3 separate regions of the Homo sapiens genome follow, and regions 1 and 3 are each linked to region 2. Evidence: promoter capture Hi-C in human tissues and cell types (Jung and others, 2019). All regions are on one chromosome and are shown on one strand. Each heading gives the region's core, a stretch centred on a gene start or on the middle of the fragment in contact. The rest is flanking DNA. Distances are from core to core; before and after follow the strand shown.

The links. Contacts are between HindIII fragments. The study calls those that stand out against the background at their distance.
Region 1: a contact is called between a fragment that was not itself captured here and the fragment with the promoter of SLC2A11 in region 2, in 1 of the 25 tissues and cell types used here (dorsolateral prefrontal cortex).
Region 3: a contact is called between a fragment that was not itself captured here and the fragment with the promoter of SLC2A11 in region 2, in 1 of the 25 tissues and cell types used here (spleen).

What each region holds. Positions count from the first base shown.
Region 1 is chr22:23,665,819-23,668,831 of GRCh38, forward strand. It overlaps the pseudogene GUSBP11. Among named protein-coding and RNA genes, the nearest start is that of RGL4, 24 kb to the right of the region's middle. The HindIII fragment of the contact is 3,182 bases long and covers 1-3,013 here.
Region 2 is chr22:23,856,572-23,859,384 of GRCh38, forward strand. It overlaps SLC2A11 (solute carrier family 2 member 11), which reads left to right and starts at 1,304. Exons shown (of 12, transcript NM_001024939.4): 1 at 1,304-1,458. The coding sequence starts at 1,429. The HindIII fragment of the contact is 17,543 bases long and covers 1-2,813 here.
Region 3 is chr22:23,727,060-23,730,052 of GRCh38, forward strand. It overlaps LOC124905088 (a long non-coding RNA gene), which reads right to left. Exons shown (of 2, transcript XR_007068020.1): 2 at 2,671-2,993. Among named protein-coding and RNA genes, the nearest start is that of ZNF70, 23 kb to the right of the region's middle. The HindIII fragment of the contact is 7,610 bases long and covers 1-2,993 here.

The DNA of each region.
Region 1 (3,013 bases), core at 185-2,684, 190 kb before region 2:
ACCACTCAACTACATGGAAACTGAACAACCTGCTCTTGAATGACTACTGGGTACATAACAAAATGAAGGCAGAAATAAAGATGTTCTTTGAAACCAACGAGAACAAGGACACAACATACCAGAATCTCTGGGACACGTTCAAAGCAGTGTGTAGAGGGAAATTTATAGCACTAAATGCCCACAAGAGAAAGCAGGAAAGATCTAAAATTGACACCCTAACATCACAATTAAAAGAACTAGAGAAGCAAGAGCAAACAGATTCAAAAGCTAGCAGAAGGCAAGAAATAACTAAGATCAGAGCAGAACTGAAGGAAATAGAGACACAAAAAACCCTTCAAAAAAAAATCAATGAATCCAGGAGCTGGTTTTTTGAAAAGATCAACAAAATTGATAGACCACTAGCAAGACTAATAAAGAAGAAAACAGGGAAGAATCAAATAGACGCAATAAAAAATGATACAGGGGATATCACCACCGATCCCACAGAAATACAAACTACCATCAGAGAATACTATAAATGCCTCTACGCAAAAAAAAACTAGAAAATCTAGAAGAAATGGATAAATCCCTAGGCACATACACCCTCCCAAGACTAAACTAAGAAGAAGTTGAATCTCTGAATAGACCAATAACAAGCTTTGAAATTGAGGCAATAATTAATAGCTTACCAACCAAAAAAAGTCCAGGACCAGATGGATTCACAGCCGAATTCTACCAGAGGTACAAGGAGGAGCTTGTACCATTCCTTCTGAAACTATTCCAATCAACAGAAAAAGAAGGAATCCTCCCTAACTCATTTTATGAGGCCAGCATCATCCTGATACCAAAGCCTGGCAGAGACACAACAAAAAAAGAGAATTTTAGACCAATATCCTTGATGAACATTGATGCAAAAATCCTCAATAAAATACTGGCTAACCGAATCCAGCAGCACATCAAAAAGCTTATCCAGCATGATCAAGTGGGCTTCATCCCTGGGATGCAAGGCTGGTTCAACGTACGAAAATCAATAAACGTAATCCAGCATATAAACAGAACCAAAGACAAAAACCACATGATTATCTCAACAGATGCAGAAAAGGCCTTTGACAAAATTCAACAACACTTCATGCTAAAAACTCTCAATAAATTAGGTATTGATGGGACATATCTCAAAATAATAAGAGCAATCTATGACAAACCCACAGCCAATATCACAGTGAATGGACAAAAACTGGAAGCATTCCCTTTGAAAACTGGCACAAGACAGGGATGCCCTCTCTCACCACTCCTATTCAACATAGTGTTGGAAGTTCTCGCCAGGGCAATCAGGCAGGAGAAGGAAATAAAGGGCATTCAATTAGGAAAAGAGGAAGTCAAATTGTCCCTGTTTGCAGATGACATGATTGTTTATCTAGAAAACCCCATCGTCTCAGCCCAAAATCTCCTTAAGCTGATAAGCAACTTCAGCAAAGTCTCAGGATACAAAATCAATGTGCAAAAATCACAAGCATTCTTATACACCAATAACAGACAAACAGAGAGCCAAATCACGAGTGAACTCCCATTCACAATTGCTTCAAAGAGAATAAAATACCTAGGAATCCAACTTACAAAGGATGTGAAGGACCTCTTCAAGGAGAACTACAAACCACTGCTCAATGAAATAAAAGAGGATACAAACAAATGGAGGAACATTCCATGCTCATGGATAGGAAGAATCAATATCGTGAAAATGGCCATACTGCCCAAGGTAATTTATAGATTCAATGCCATCCCCATCAAGCCACCAATGACTTTCTTCACAGAATTGGAAAAAACTACTTTAAAGTTCATATGGAACCAAAAAAGAACCCACATTGCCAAGTCAATCCTAACCAAAAAGAACAAAGCTAGAGGCATCACGCTACCTGACTTCAAACTATACTACAAGGCTACAGTAATCAAAACAGCATGGTACTGGTACCAAAACAGAGATATAGACCAATGGAACAGACCAGAGCCCTCAGAAATAATGCCGCATACCTACAACTATCTGATCTTTGACAAACCTGACAAAAACAAGCAATGGGGAAAGGATTCCCTATTTAATAAATGGTGCTGGAACAACTGGCTAGCCATATGTAGAAAGCTGAAACTGGATCCCTTCCTTACACCTTATATAAAAATTAATTCAAGATGGATTAAAGACTTACATATTAGACCTAAACCATAAAAACCCTAGAAGAAAACCTAGGCAATACCACTCAGGACATAGGCATGGGCAAGGACTTCATGTCTAAAACACCAAAACCAATGGCAACAAAAGCCAAAATTGACATATGGGATCTAATTAAACTAAAGAGCTTCTGCACAGCGAAAGAAACTACCATCACAGTGAACGGGCAACCTACAGAATGGGAGAAAATTTTTGCAACCGACTCATCTGACAAAGGGCTAATATCCAGAATCTACAATGAACTCAAACAAATTTACAAGAAAAAAACAAACAATCCCATCAAAAAGTGGGCAAAGGATATGAACAGACACTTCTCAGAAGAAGACATTTATGCAGCCAAAAGACACATGAAAAAATGCTCATCATCACTGGCCATCAGAGAAATGCAAATCAAAACCACAATGAGATACCATCTCACACCAGTTAGAATGGCGATCATTAAAAAGTCAGGAAACAACAGGTGCTGGAGAGGATGTGGAGAAATAGGAACACTTTTACACTGTTGGTGGGACTGTAAACTAGTTCAACCATTGTGGAAGTCAGTGTGGCAATTCCTCAGGGATCTAGAACTAGAAATACCATTTGACCCAGCCATTCCATTACTGGGTATATACCCAAAGGATTATAAATCATGCTGCTATAAAGACACATGCACACGTATGTTTATTGCGGCACTATTCACAATAGCAAAGACTTGGAACCAACCCAAATGTCCAACAATGATAGACTGGATTAAGAAAATGTGGCACATATACACCATAGAATACTATGCAGCCATAAAAAATGATGAGTTCATGTCCCTTGTAGGGACATGGA
Region 2 (2,813 bases), core at 54-2,553:
AAAATGCAGTGTTTTTAGGAATTAAAGTTCAGAGCAGCAAAAGTCAAACAAAAACCAAGTCTGAGCAATAGAGCTACTACAGTGCCCATCACAGTGTCTGCTCAGGTGACTTCTTAAGGTCATGTCCAGCTCTATGTTTCTGTGACCACAAATAGCATCTTTGGCAAGTCTAGTTTCAGTTGGTCTTTGTCCAGCTCCTGGATTCCTCCATGCAGGGCCTGAGAAGCCCTGAGGGATAAAAGATTAATCCGGTTCAGTGGACTCTGTGGTTCCTCAACTCCAAGTGCCCCCAGCATAAGTCGGACCTGCCTCTCACGCAATGGATCCCCTGGCGGCAACCCGAGACCGGTTCTCCTACCCGCATTCCGCCAAGTCTCTCGCTCTGCCCAGGACGCACAGATGAGAGCGCTCCGAAGACTGGTGGGTCTATCTTTCGGTCTTTCCTAATTTTCCCGTCCTCTGGGGAAAGGTCGGGGATACCTGAACCAAAGTGTGTGTGTGTGGGGGGGGGGGGGTGTAGGTGGGGCGTGCATAGATGTGCACAACCAAGGGCTTGGCCCTCCGGAGAACGCCCAGGGGCAGTGGCCTCCGAGGTTCTGGCGGCCGGCAGTGGCGACCGGCGCAGGGAATCGCGCAGGGTTGCGGCTGAGGTCAGACCAGCGAGAGACAGAGACCCGCAGACATTTAGTCCAGAGACTGTAGCAAAGGAGGGGGACGAGGGGCCAGAGCCGGAATTTCGGGGGAGGACTTGGGAGCGCGGCGACCAGAGTCGCTTGCTGGCACTTGCGAGGGCGAATGCAGGGGCTTGGCCGAGATGACCTTGGACCAGAGCTCCCTTCCGGCCTGCAGAGATGAGCTTGGGGCTTAGCCGAGTAAGGAGTGAGCGGCTTTTCAGCCTCAGTGCTGCGGCAGAGGCGGATGGAGGATGAACTGGAGCCGTCCTTACGGCCTCGGACGCAGGTGAGCTCCCAGCGGCGGCGACAAACCCCGCGGCGGTGACCCCAAACCCCCCCCCCGCGGCGGCGACTCCCCCCCAACACGCTGGGGCGAACTCCCCAGCACCCCCAGCCCTTCTTAAAAACGCTGAGTCCGCGCATGCGCCTCAGGCGCCCTCCGCGACACTCTAGCGGCTCTGCGCTTCACTGCGCCTGAGCTTGAGTCTCAGGCCTTAGTCCCGGCCATCGTTTAGCGTTGCGCGAACCCTCAGCTGGTGCGGCCGCTCTCAATACCCACTGCGCTTGCGCTACAGCTTCGTCTCGACGGGTTTGCTCCTCTCAAACGCTCACTGCGCGTGCGCTAGCGCCTCTTTCACCACTGGGCGCTGCGCGCTGCCCTTCCCTCCGCGCACAGGCTGCCGGCTCACCGCTTGCTAATGGCAGCCGGGGTCTCCCTGGGACAGCAAGACCTCCGCTCAGGCCCCTCTTTCGAATGCTCCACGCCCTCCTGCGATCTAGAATGGTATGAATTCTCATACTTGCCCAGACCAGGCGTTTCAGATGAGGGATTGCGGACCTGAGTGAACTGCGCAGGTGCAGCCACCTGGGAGGCTTAACTAAGTCGTCAAATGTTCAAAAATATCGTGCTTGTATGTACAGTGGCGTTAGGTGCTAGGCTCAGATGTGCATAGGCAGGTGTTTACGCCCAGGGTCGGCCTGTGGGCCAGAGCAAGGTTGCTGGACCCTGGCATCCCAGCCCCCAGAGATGCTAAATCCTCTGCCGATCAGCCCTGACCTCAGAGGCAGTAAGCCCTCCGAGCGCTGCAATCCTGACTGCTCGCCCCCTCCCGAGACTGTTTCCCACCCCCGCCTCTTTCCTCCTCATGCTCCCTCAGCTCTGACCTGACGTCCTGCCTCACAGAGGGAAAGGGCGCAGCCAGAGGAGAGCGCCCGCACTGCACTGCCCACCGCTTCTAGGGGTTCCTTCCCAATCTGGACTGATTTCTTTAGGTATTTGCATGGCACATTCCCTCACCTCCTTTGTCTTGATTTGCACTTGTATTCCTTGACAGCCTTATTTAAAATAGCACCAACTAAGGTGGGAGGATCGCCCAGGAGTTCGAAGCTGCAGGGATCTAATAGGATCTCACCACTGCACTCCAGCGTGGGCGACGTAGCGAGACCTTGTCTCTAAAAAATAAAAATAAAATAAAATAAAATAAAATAGCACCACCTGGTCCAAACACTTCCTACGCCCCTTCACTGCTTTAAGTCTCTGTAGCACCAGCTGATGTACTATATATTTTGCTTGTTCATTTTGCGATTGCTTGTCTTTCTCTGCTGGAAGGAAAGCTCTGACAGCTCATGGATTTTGTCTGTTGTTCACTGCTGTATCCCAACACCTAGAACAGTAGGATTATTGACCATAATAGGGAGGCAATAAATCTTTGTTTGCTGAATTAATGGTCCCTATCGTAGCTAATGTCTGAATGCTTACCATGACCAGGCACGGTATAGGCAATCTCCATGCATGATCTCATTGAATTCAACGATTTCCTGTAGTCTTAGAGACCTGTCAATATCTCCTGCTACATGAGCTCAGCTGCCATCAAGCACTGTGTTCGCTGCTTCCTTCACATCTGCTGTCTTAAGGGAGCTCTCACTTCCATGCGGCCCCCGTGGAGCTGTAATTTGGCCTCAATGGGACCAGATGCCAGGTTTCTCACCTGGCTTCTTCCTAAGGCTTCCAGCCTTAGAGAAAGTTACTTAGGCCTTATTGGAACTATGGGCAGCCAGGGCCCCTGTCACCAACCTGTCTCCAGACCTATGGCAAGGCCTTCAGCAGGATTCTGCCCTCCAGAGCCACTTCCTCTGCTC
Region 3 (2,993 bases), core at 65-2,564, 130 kb before region 2:
TAGACACGAAGTGGAATTGCATGTCTTTGACTTTGTCATGTGAGGGGTGACCATGTGACTTTTTTGGTCCATAAAATGTAAAGAGCAATTTTTTCTTTTTTTGAGAGACAGGGAGTGTCTCACTCTGTCACCCAGGCTGGAGTGCAGTGGCACGGTCTCAGCTCACTGCAACCTCTGCCTCCCAGGCTCAAGTAATCCTCCCAACTCAGCCTCCCAAATAGCTAAGATTACAGGCGAATGACACTGCGCTGGGGTAATTTTTTGTATTTTTTGTAGATACGGGTTTTTGCCATGTTGGCCAGGCTGCTCTCGAGCTCCTGAGCTCAAGTGATCTGCCCGCCTTGGCCTCCCAATGTGCCTGGATTACAGATGTGAGCCACCACACCCAGCCTTAAACAGCAAAAAAAAAAAAAAAAAAAAAAAAAAAAAAAAAAATTTGAGGCGGAATCTCACTCTGTCACCCAGGCTGGAGTGCAATAGCGTGATCTTGGCTCACTGCAACCTCTGCCTCCCAGGTTCAAGCAATTCTCCTGCCTCAGTCTCCTGAGTAGCTGGGACTACAGGCATGTGCCACCACATCCAGCTAATTTTTTTATTTTTAGCAGAGATGGGGTTTCACCACATTGGCCAAGCTGATCTTGAATTCCTGACCTCAGGTGATCCACCCACCTCGGCCTCTCAAAGTGCTGAGACTACAGAAGTGAGCCACCACGTCCAGCAGGCAGCAACATTTTTAAGAGCCAATGCCTGATTTTCTGCATCATCCCTTTTTCCTGTCTTGGTGATCACAGAAGCACGTGTCGAAATTGAGCACCTCTCAGTCAGGATCCCTGAGCAACTTATGGAAATCAAAGCCCCCTTTCCAACCAGTGATGGATGTGTAGGATGAATGAGAAATAAACCTTTATTGAGTCAAAAGACTGAGGTTTTGGAGTTGTTACTGCAGCTTAATTAGCCTGTCCTGACTGATACACTATGTGCCAGACCCTCATCTGGGGTCTCTACCCACATTATCTCATCTACTTCTCACAACATCCGAATAAAGTAGCTTGTCCGCTTATAAAGGAATAGCTGAGGCTGAGGCTGGGTCATTTGTCTTTTTTGTCCAAAAGAGACTTGTTTGGCTCATGGTTCTGCAGGCTGTACTAGAAGCATGGCCCCAGCATCTGTTTCTGCTGCAGGATTGGAAGCTTCCACTCATGGCAGAGGCAAAGGAGAGCTGTGTGCAGATCACATGGCAAAGGAGGAAGCGAGAGAGCAGAGGTGCCAAGCTCTTCCAACAACCAGTTCTTACAGTAACTAAGAGTGACAATTGGCCAAGTGTGGTGGCTCACATCTGTAATCCCAGCACTTTGGGAGGCCGAGGCTGGGGGATCACTTGAGGTCAGGAGTTCGAGATCAGCCTGGCCAACATGGCAAAACTCCATCTCTACTAAAAATACAAAAATCAGCCAGGCATGGTGGCAGGTGCCTGTAATCCCAGCTACTTGGGAGACTGAGGCAGAATTGCTTGAACCCAGGAGGTGGAGGTTGCAGTGAGCTGAGATCGCACCACTGCACTCCAGCCTGGGCCACAGAGCCAGACTCTGTCTCAAAAAATTTTGAAAAAGCTGGGCGCAGTGGCTCGTGCCTGTAATTTCAGCACTTTGGAAGGCTGAGGCAAATGGATCGCCTGAGGTCAGGAGTTCAAGACCAGGCTGATCAACATGGTGAAACCCTGTCTCTACTAAAAATACAAAAATTAGCTGGGCCTGGTGGCGGGTGCCTGTAATTCCAGCTACTCGGGCGGCTGAGGCAGGAGAATCGCTTGAACCCCAGAGGTGGAGGTTGTGGTGAGCTGAGATCACACCATTGCAGTCCAGCCTGTGCAACAAGAGCGAAACTTCGTCTCAAAAAAAAAAAAAAAAAAAAGAAAAGAAAAAGAAAGAAAGAAAGCATTTTGTAGTCAGGCTCTCACTATGTTGCCTAGGCTGGCCTTGAACTGTTGGCCTCAAGCAATCCTCCCAGCTCACCCTCCCAAAGTGTTGAGATTATAGGCATGAGCCACCATGCCCGGCCTCAAAGACTTTCAAATTTATGTTTGAAGAAGGAACTGACGGAGTCATGGGTTTTATTATATACTCATATATTGCAAGAAAAGAGAACTGCCAATTTTCATACTCTGGGTATATATGAATGAAATGTATAGTTTTTATTTTTTTTTACTTCATTTTATTTTATTTTATTTTTGAGATGGAGACTCGCTCTGTCACCAAGGCTGAAGTGCAATGGTGCCATCTCGGCTCACTGCAACCTCTGCCTCCTGGGTTGAAGCGATTCTCCTGCCTCAGACTCCTGAGTAGCTGGGACTACAGGCGCCCGCCATCACACCTGGCTAATTTTTTGTATTTTTGGTGGAGACAGGGTTTCACTGTGTTAGCCTGGGTGGTCTCGATCTCCAGACCTCATGATCCGCCCTCCTCGGCCTCCCAAAGTTCTGGGATTACAGGTGTGAGCCACTGTGCCCAGTCAGATTTTTTTAATAGAAATGGGGTGTTGCTACATTGACCAGGCTTGTCTCAAACTCCTGGCCTCAAGTGATCCTCCCGTCTCTGCCTCTCAAAGTGCTAGGATGACAGGTGTGAGCCACCGTGCTCGGCCCATATGTAAATAAATACAAGTGTTTATATCTTTATGTGTACAGAGATGTCATTTGATATTTTAATTGTTACTTTAATATTCTAATAGCAATATCATGACAACAATTATCAAACACAACATCCAATTAGAATAACAGGCATTTCTGATCTCCCACCTCAGCTACCTTTTGTGCGGTTTTTGAGGTTAAAGGTTTTTGGTTTCGGGGTTTTTTTTTTTGCAAGACCTAAAAATAATGTCTGAATTCTGAGTGTCTTCAAAGACCCCTTCCCTTTGTACAAATACTGCCAGGGACAGTTGTTTTATTACTTAAAATAAATGTTATTGAAGTATAGTTTACATACAATACAATGCAC